Regions from separate parts of the Homo sapiens genome. Here region 1 is linked to region 2. The links are contacts of gene promoters, found by promoter capture Hi-C in blood cells and fetal thymus (Javierre and others, 2016). All regions are on one chromosome and are shown on one strand. The core of a region is centred on a gene start or on the middle of the fragment in contact, and the rest is flanking DNA. Distances in the headings are between cores, read along the strand shown.

Region 1 (5,112 bases), core at 903-3,402, 520 kb before region 2:
TCATCTTTAAAATTAGAGGGAGGAGGGCAGATGGGTCTGGTCCTGAGCCCACTCACTTCCAAAAGTAGACAGAGAGCGATATCGTCACGTATTCGCCCGTCCCTCCGGGCCTGGGCCGCCAGGTTGGTGAACCAGACGCAGGGGACCCAGTACTTGTTGAAGTCGGATTTCAGGCTCTCAAACTTTTTCCTCTCTTCCTGGGACATGAAACCTGAGGGGGTAAAGCAGGTGGGGTGCAGTTGCACCCTCTGCCGCCAGGGGAGGCTGCTGTTCCGCCGTCTGGCTCCCCTCCCTCGCGTCCACCGGCTGTCCCAGGACTCGCGGTTCCGCGTTCCTGTCGCAGTCCAGACCCTTCCCTGGAGGCCCCTGCTCCCAGGACTCTCCCAGGCGCCACCTGCATCCGGCTGTGGGCCGGACCCCCAGAGGCTCCCGGCGGGCGGCGCACCTGCGTCCACCACGTGCTCCATGGTGGGGAAGCGCTTAAGCACGCGGGTGCTGACCGAGCGCAGCACCAGCACGGACGCCAGGTTCGCGTAGCGGATGAGGGTGCGGCGCAGCAGGCGGCCCCGCTGGTCCACGCCGTGCACGCTAGCCGAGATGACGCACATCAGCTGGTCTGGCAGCGGGATGCTTGTGTACTGGGACCACCAGCGGTTCACCACGAGAGTCACATAGAAACCTGCTTGGCCGCCGTGATAGAGGGAGTAGGAAGGGAGAGTGGAGAGCCTGGGGGTCGGAGCGCCTCACCTCCCCCAGCAAAGGGCCTGGTCCAGGCCAGTTGAATCGTGGCAGGGGGAAGGAAACATTCAGCTCCAGTGCCCTGCTGTGCGAGGCCAGGAGGAGGGAGGAGGGCAAACTTCCTTCAGCAGAGGGAAAGTGGGGATTCAAAGCCAGGAGACTGCTTCCCAGGAGGGTGGGGAAGGGGTTGTCACCTCTGTCCAGCTCCCCTGCAGTGCCCAGGGTGGGCTTGTGAGGCCAGCAGGTGTCTTGTGCCTTGCTGGAAGTGAGGGTCCGGCAAGTGATAGGGCCCTGCCCTCTGGAAGTCCTGGACCCAGCACCCAGCTCCTGTGCCTGCTGGGCCTGCTCTGGCTGACCAGGAAGGCTCTGCCACCGTGTTGAGTAATTCTTTTTTTTTTTTTTTTTTTTTTTAGCAGAGTCTCGCTACATTGCCCAGGCTGGACTGGAACTCCTGGGCTCAAGCGATCCTCTCACCTCAGCCTCTCGAGTAGCTGAGACTGCAGGTGTGTCACCACACCATCTGTTGGGTAATTCTGACCCTCGGAGCTGTCAACCCAACCCAGAGGTCAGGGAACACAGTAAGGGGGACACAGGGAAAACTAGAAGGGAGCCTTACCCAATACAAAGGACAAGGGAATGAGGTCTGCTGAGCGGTTGCAGTACCGGGCCACCTGAGCATACACGTACCTCTGCTCCTGGGTCAGCAGCAGCCTGGGGAAGGCAGGTGTAGGCTTGGGTTAGAGGGAGGTGGGTGGCCCAGTCTCCCCACTTGCGCCAGCTCTAAGACCCTGCCCTTACCGGTAGGTGATGCTAAGCACAGCGTACAAGGCCCCAAAGAGGAGGAATTCCTTGTAGAGGAGCTTGTAGATGCTTCCCCTCCAGCGGAGAAGCAGGCCAGAGAAACCTCCGAAGCGGGCCTCCGCCACTTTGAGAGTGTATGAAACCGTCATGGTGCTGGGAGCCTGGGGCAGGAGGTCACAAGAGTTGCCCCCAGGGCTGTCGTTTAGTTCTCCAGACAACCTCCCTTCCACTCTGGTCTCACACACCCCAGCCTTCACCCTGCGTCAGTGGACAAGGGGGTAGGAGCCTGCAGAGCAGAAAAGTACACCCCACCCCCTGCAGAACTGAGCAGTACATGGGCAAAGCCAGGCTAGAGTTGGACAAGGTAGAACTGAGATCTGTGTCCCTTCATGCATGAGGTTTCCTCAAGCTCCTCTTCAGCCTGCAGGGCTAGGGATAACCAGATCCTGAACTGCTGCGGACAAGAGACGCAGCTCCAGCCCAAATCCACTGCTATTCCTTGGGGCCTTGCTTTGGAAGCTGATTAACTAGAACTACCAGGGCCCAGGGCACTCTCACCCCCATCCCATACCTGCCTACCTGCTCTGGGCAGCAGCCCGTGTGGAAGATGAACTGGGCTAGACTTCAACCCCCACAGACTTAAGTACCTCTGCAGTCCATAAAGTTAGGCTGGACTGAGGCCTATCATTGATGGATTGAAGCTGTCATCCAGCTTCCCCTGGTGCTGGGAACTGGGTGTGTCTCCTTACCCCTGTAGGGTTGGGCTGGCCTTCGAGTGGCAGAAATGCCAGCTATACTGACCCCACAGCTCACACAGACGACACCATGTCCTTCAAGCCAGTATGACAGGGGTTATTGTCCCACGTTTCAGGTGGGAAGACAGATGCATGATAAACTGTTATAATAATACCAGCTGCTGATCACAGAGCACTGACTAAGTGACAGGAACCATGCCAAGGGCACTACTAGGTCATCCTCTCAAGAAATCCTCATCACAGCACCATGAGGTAGGGAATCAATCATCCACATTTCACAGATGAGGCTCCAAGAGGTAAATGACTTGCCCGCCGTCGGCCATACAGCTAGAACATGTTGGAGGCAGGATTCAAAGCCAGGGCTGATGGACTTCCAAGGCTGGAAGTGGCCTAGCAAAGGCATGAGCTCCAGGACCCATCCTGTGCACTGGCCACACTCCCAGTCTTCTTGTACAGGGGCTTGGGGGCTTGGCCAGGCTCTTCTCCATCCATGCCACGGGGCTGACAGCCACAGATCTGGAAGCTCAGGCCTAGGAGTGCAGGCTCCGTTAAGCCCTGTGTCCAACATCCTGACTCCTAGGGGTGCCCAAGATTTGAGTGGCCACTTTCACCTCTGGAGGAAGTAATACCTAAGGCGCTGATAGAAATAGAACTTCCGCTGCCAGGCAAGGTGGCTCACACCTGTAATCCTAGCACTTTGGGCAGCCTCAACGCAGGTGGATCACTTGAGGTCAGGAGTTCGAGACTAGCCTGGCCCAACATGGTGAAACCCTGTCTCTACTAAAAATACAAAAATTAGCCGGGTGTGGTGGCACGAACTTGTAATCCCAGCAGGTACATGGGAGGCTGAGGCAGGAGAATTGCTTGAACCTGGGGAGGCGCAGGTTGCAACGAGTTGAGATCGTGCCACTGCACTCTAGCCTGGGTAATCAAAAAAAAAAAAAAAAGAAAAGAAAGAAAGAAAAAGAAAAAGAAAAAGAAATAGAATCTCAATGGGAGAATCGCTTGAACCCGGGAGGGAGAGGTTGCAGTGAGCTGAGATTGTGCCACTGCACTTCAGCTTGGGTGACAGAGACTCTGTCTCAAAAAAAAAAAAAAAAAAAAAGGCCAGGCACTGTGACTCACGCCTGTAATCCCAGCACTTTGGGAGGCCGAGGCAGGCGGATCACCTGAGGTCGGGAGTTCGAGATCAGCCTGACCAACATGGAGAAACCCCATCTCTACTAAAAATACAAAATTAGCTGAGCATGGTGGCACATGCCTGTAATCCCAGCTACTCCGGAGGCTGAGACAGAAGAATCGCTTGAACCTGGGAGGTGGAGATTGCGGTGAGCCGAGATCATGCCATTGCACTCCAGCCTGGACAACAAGAGCAAAACTTTGTCTCAAAAAAGAAAAAGAAAAAGAAAAAAGAAAAGAAAAGAAATAGAACCTCAAAGTGGAAGAGAATTGGCAGCTTACTTACCCTCCCAGTGCTGAGGTAAGTGAACACTGAAAAATCCCAAGAGTGGTGGTCCTGCCTCTGTCTTGTTTTGGGAAGCTCCTCCCCCTACACTGTGAGCTGGTTCTCTTCTGCAAGTTTCCTAAAGATAGGAAGCATAGAGAGGTGATTAGGAGCACAGGCTTGGGAATTGGACAAACCTGGGTCTGAACCCCAGCTCTTTGTAACTGTGCAAGTTACCTAATCTCTCTGAACCTCAGTTTCCTCCTCTGCAAATCAGAATCAAGAACGCCTAACCTCATGGGGCAATTTTGAGTATTCACAGAAACAATGCCTATGGCCTAAAGCACTGTGGGTGGTTGGCTTGGGCTGCTGTTACTATGAAAATTTGAATCTGTTCTCTTTGGTTTCCCACGACTGGTCCAGTCTTGCCTACCAAGCCTTCCAAGCCAGACAGTCCCTGAGAAATGAGGAGGCAGAGACCTTTTCTTCATGTCCTGCTAACCTGCCCCAGACCAAACAGTGCTGGATCCTGGCTTTTAAGCTGAATACACAAGGCCCTCTGAGACTTACCCACCTCTACCCTCATCACCAGTCTCTGCCTAGCTCATATAAAATTTTTTTTTAATTTTAATTTTTGTGAGTGCATAGTAGGTGTATATGCCTAGCTCATTTGTAACTGTTCCTTCAAGATGTGGCTCAGAGCACCCTCTAGGAAGCCTTCCATGATCTTCCCCAGGTTACTCCTCAAAACCCTCTGGGTTTTCTCTCTTGCAGCAGTTAATCACAGTGGTCTATGATCTGTTTACAGGGAGATCTCCCCTCTAGCCTGTGAGACACCTGAGAACAGTTTTGAATCTGATTCATCTAGGTAAAGCTAGATTACAGTGGCTCATGCCTGTAATCCTGACACTTTGGGAGGCTGAGGTGGGAGGATCACTTAAGCCCAGGAGTTTGAGACCAGCCTGGGCGACATAGTGAGACCTGTCTCTACAAAAAATTTTTTTAAATTAGCTGGGTGTGGTGGTGTGTGCCTATAGTCCAGGTACTTGGGAGGCTGAGGTGGGAGGATCACTTGAGCCCAGGAGTTTGAGGCTGCAGTGAGCCATGATACAGCCATTGCACTCCAGCTTGGGTGACAGAGTGAGACCCTGTCTCAAAACAAAAACAAAAACAAAAAAAGAAAAAGAAAAAGCTGGGGAGGACTTGAAACCAAGCAAGCTTCTTTTTCTTTCTTTCTTCTCATCCTTCCCTCCTTCTTGCCTCCCTCCACCCCCTCTTTTGTTCTCCATTTCTCTCTTCCCTTTTAAGATGAAAGACATCTGGTCCCCCACCCCACCCCTGCTATTTTGTGAGATTTCCCAGATGAGCCAAGAT
Region 2 (4,769 bases), core at 808-3,307:
CCAGTCTGAAGTTGTTGTTTAAGGATCCTAATTCTTGTTCAGAGATGCATTCTAAAGGGTCTTCTCTATTGCTTTTTCTCCCAAATTTAAACTTAATTCGGTTTGTCTGTGTGCATTTGCGTGAAGAAGTGAACTGTTGTTTTCATACGTTAATGACAGTTTTCTCAGCTCTGAAGAGAAAAGGCATTTACTCCTCCCAGCTGAAAGCGCCCCTAGGTGACTGGGGGCCTCATGGGAGTCTCTGGGGGGGTTAACCCCTTGCGACGTGCAGCGGCCCTGGAGGGAAATCCCCAACAAAAATTAATTTTAAAAATGGCTCATCCAGGAAACGCATATAAGGGCTGATCGCCCAGCCTTTTGAGCCTTTTCTGGGGTCATAAACCTCTGGAGAGAGAAACTGAGACATGTAAGAGGGTGGAAACGACTCAGCGATGACACACTGTAGCATCCTGCCCACAAGCAGCACATAGCAATCAAAAAACCTGGGCCACAGCTCAGTTCCTCCTATTAAGAGAGAAAAAAAAATTGGGAAACAATATAAGAATGAGGAGGAAACAAAGAGAATGACCCCCTTTCCAGCACTCCATAGGTTGTATGGCACATCTACTTGCCAAAGTTTATGTAAAATGGAAATAATATGGTCTTTGTGCACATTTACATTAAGGAAAAAGAGCCCTAAGATCGACCTGCAAATTATAGAGTTCCTAAGTGCTCTTTTTCTCGATTTTTTTCTTTTCTGCCTGCTCTAAATCTGCTGTTATTTTTCTATTAAGATAAAAACCACTGCATCCAACAAGTTCTTTTTGCAGGGTGGTGAATTTGTGTTTATCTCATGGCTAAAAGTTCTGAAGTAAAAGCTATAGGATATTTGTTTATGTGTGTGTCTATGTGTGTGTGTATATATATTTAAAAGGCCTTTATAATTTCTACGATTTTATGCTTAATTGGCAATTAAATCTGTTTTAATTTCCCTCTAGCACACCAAACGTTTTCTCTCCGACCTTATAATGTAAATTTTGCTATTTGACTTTCACCTAAGTTGTTTCCTTTAATATGCAAATTTAAGGCTATTTAGCTGAAAACTGCCCAGGGTTATGAAATAGGTCATCAAGAATCTGAAAGTCTAATATAGGGGAAAAAAAGGTTTTCATAAATCTGTAAAATGTAGTTCTAAAGCATGCCTAATATGTCTGTGTATTTATGTGTTGTGTACACAGTGTTTCACTACTAAAAATATATAAAAGAGTGCTAATTAATTGGCTTAAAACAATGAAAAGCGCTTAAATCATATACTACAAAAGACTAGTGAAATGCTCTTTCAAGTTTATGTAACTTAAGTAAAATCTTTAATAAATAAGCTTGCTTTAAAATTAATGGTAAGGTAATATTAGAAACATCTTAAGAATTGCCCGCCTACATTTTTCTTTGCATGTATTAATGAAGCAATTTCATACTCATCCCTGCCAAATATTATAAGGTGTCAAAATTTGGCATAGGGGTAACAAAACTATAAACGCAGCCCAAGACAGAATGATCTTGCTTGTGTAACCTTTAACAAATAAGATGTTGATATTGGTTTAATGAATGTAGTTATATCTTGAATTATTTAGTAAAATTACCATAACCTCTAATTTTGTGGCTTTAGGCAGTCTAATCCACAGATGGTAGGTAGGTTTGTTTTGGGAAAGGACTGTTACCATCTTTGTTTCAAAGCTAAACTATAAACTAAATTTCTCCCAAAGTCCAGGAATGAACAACGACAGCTTGGAGTTTAGAAGCAAGATGGAGTCAGTTAGGTCATATCTTCCTCACTGTCTCAGTTATAATTTTGCAATGGCAGTTTCATAACTTTATTTATTTTTTAATTTTATTTTTGGAGATGGCGTCTCACTCTGTCACCCAGGCTGGAGTGCAGTGGCACAATCTCGGCTCACTGCAACCTCTGCCTCCCTGGTTCAAGGGATTCTCTTGCCTCAGCCTCCCTAGTAGCTGGCATTACAGGCATCCGCCACCACACCCAGCTAATTTTTGTATTTTTAGGAGATATGGGGTTTCACCATGTTGGCCAGGCTGGTCTTGAACTCCTTACCTCCGGTGATCTGCCCACTTCGGCCTCCCAAAGTGCTGGATTACAGGCATGAGCCACCACGCCCAGCGGTTTCATAACTTTAAATCATGACTTTTGGGCCTGGGTGCAGTAGCTCACGCCTATAATCCCAGCACTTTGGGAGAATGAGGCAGGCAAATCACCTGAGGTCAAGAGTTCAAGACCAGCCTGACCACCATAGAGAAACCCCGTCTCTACCAAAAATACAAAATTAGCCAGCTGTGGTGGCATGTGCCTGTAATCCCAGCTACTGGAGATTACAGTAGATTACAGGTGCCTGGGCAACAAGAGCGAAATTACATCTCAAAAAAAAAAAAAAAATCATGACTTGTGGTTTTCATAATCTAGGTAAACCATTAAAATAAAAAAATTAGGTAAATGTAATGGGATAAATACTGGCAGACAAATTTGTCTTAATTTATAATATAAAGTTAAATTAATAGATATTTCATTATTTGGGTATTTTCCAATAAAATATATAATATAGGAAAACATTCTTGATTTTAAAAAGTGTGAACTTTCTTAAAAAAGGTGAAAAAGTTTTGTCTAATTCAAAGATTATTTTAAGGTTGTGAATAAAACAAGGTAAAAGAAACCAGGAAATAAAAAGAGATGTAAAGACAGAAAAAAAAAAGGTTTTTTATGGTAAGAAAGCTTAAAGAGAAATAATGTTATACGAGAAAGAATCTTGTATGGTGGCTGCGAGCAGTGGCTTATGCCTGTAATCCCAGCACTTTGGGTGGCCAAGGTGGGTGGATCACCTGAAGTAAAGAGTTCTGGACCAGCCTGACCAACATGGTGAAACCCCATCTCTACTAAAAATACAAAAATTAGCCAGGCATGGCAGCATGCGCTTGTAGTCCCAGCTACTCAGGAGGCTGAGACAGGATAATTGCTTGAATCCATGAGGTGGAGATTGCAGTGAGCCGAGATTTCACCACTGTACTCCAGCCTGGGCAACAGAGCAAGGCTCCATCTCAAAAAAAAAAAAAAAAAGCACTTACTAAAAAAAAAAAATATTGAATGGTAAATTTAGTCCTAAAATAAAATGACTAATTGTTTAAGAAGGAGGGATGTTCAGCTCAAGGCAACCTCTGCCTCCCGGGTTCAAGCGATTCTCCTGCCTCAGCCTCCTGAGTAGCTGGGATTACAGGCGCACGCCACCATACCCAGCTAATCTTTGTATTTTTAGTAGAGACGGGATTTCATGATGTTGGTTAGGCTGGTCTCGAACTCCTGACCTCAAGTGATCCACCTGCCTTGGGCTCCCAAAGTGCTGGGATTATAGGCATGAGCCACCACGACCAGCCCAAAAATTTTTTTAATTGAGGTTACTATATCCATGTGTCTTCTTGTGTGTACTTCTAAAGTCCTTGTGACCTTGAGTTACAGGGCTTTGACTCCTGGGTCAAAAAGGACACCAAGTCCTGCTAAATCTTAAACACTGACAGCAATTAAAGCCTCATCAGGCTCCATAGAAGATGCCGGTCAAAATAAACTGCATTTCTGAGACACAGGGCCAAAAATTAAAGCCGTTCAACTCCTTAAGGCCCAGGGACTATCATGGAAGAGGTGGGCACGTGAGATTCTAAGGGCTGATTTTGAAAGATAAAGTTCAATTTCTCTATATATTAATCACTAACGTCAAAGGCACTTGAATGTGCTGATGAAAGACTAGCACATGGGCCCCTGTGTCAGATTAAAAGAGACTCTCCTGCCTCTTGAAGCATTAACTGACTCCTTAAGAAAGGCTATAGGCTGGGTGCGGTAGCTCACGCCTGTAATCCCAGCACTTTGGGAGGCCGAGGCAGGCGGATCATGAGATCAGGAGATCAAGACCATCCTGGCTAACATGGTGAAAGCCCGTCTCTATTAAAAATACAAAAAATTAGCCGGGCGTAGTGGCGGGCGCCTGCAGTCCCCGCCACTCGGGAGGCTGAGGCAGAAGAATGGCATGAACCCAGGAGGTGGAGCTTGCAATGAGCCGAGATCGCGCCACTGCACTCCAGCCTGGGAGACAGAGCCAGACTCCGTCTCAAAAAAAAAAAAAAAAAGAAAGCCTATAAAGTTTATAAAAGGCTTATGGAAGCTCTATCTTACGGTCAACATTAAAATTTTCTAGATCACTTATAAAATTTTGAAAAACAAATTTAATTAGCTTATTGCTGTTTTTCTTAAGTCTTCTTGCTTGGAAAATTAAGTTGCCTCTCAAAGAATGAAGGTTTTAAAAAAAAAAAACATTGAGTTATCACTTTGGTTAAATGAATGACTTATTTGACAATGACCTGTGATCCTATTTTGTGATATCAAGTGTTTTAAACCTTTGATACTCAACAAGCTTTCTAAAATCAAATTGTAAATTAGGTCTTTTTCTGATGTAATTAATCCTTTGAGAGATTAGGTTCCCTAAAGTCCAAAAATGACATAATTTGGTTTATTTGGTATAAAAATGATACAGGTAGCATTGTCAAATATGAAATGGTGTCTCATTTTCTTTAGGCTGTATTTCTATAATTATGTTATTAATATGTGTTCCAATATTATGGGAAACTCCTATAATTCTGATATAACTTAGTGTACATTATCAGTAATAATTATAATTGTTATGTTAAATTATTGTATGCCACAGAGGTAAATTTCCTTGTCAATTTTGTCTTTGACT

What was found. The method cuts DNA at HindIII sites, captures the fragments that hold promoters and counts their contacts. A CHiCAGO score of 5 or more calls a contact.
Region 1: the fragment with the promoter of BEST4 here is called in contact with a fragment that was not itself captured in region 2 in 16 of 17 cell types (erythroblasts, megakaryocytes, monocytes and 13 more); the score reaches 17.6 in erythroblasts.

The regions. Positions count from the first base shown.
Region 1 is chr1:44,786,018-44,791,129 of GRCh38, forward strand. It overlaps BEST4 (bestrophin 4), which reads right to left and starts at 2,153. Exons shown (of 9, transcript NM_153274.3): 1 at 1,537-2,153; 2 at 1,355-1,449; 3 at 446-679; 4 at 57-211. The coding sequence starts at 1,688. RefSeq lists enhancers at 10-695, 605-694, 696-1,381 and a silencer at 355-484. The HindIII fragment of the contact is 5,761 bases long and covers 1-4,954 here.
Region 2 is chr1:45,306,168-45,310,936 of GRCh38, forward strand. No RefSeq gene overlaps it. Among named protein-coding and RNA genes, the nearest start is that of LINC01144, 4.6 kb to the left of the region's middle. RefSeq lists an enhancer at 246-425. The HindIII fragment of the contact is 1,403 bases long and covers 1,357-2,759 here.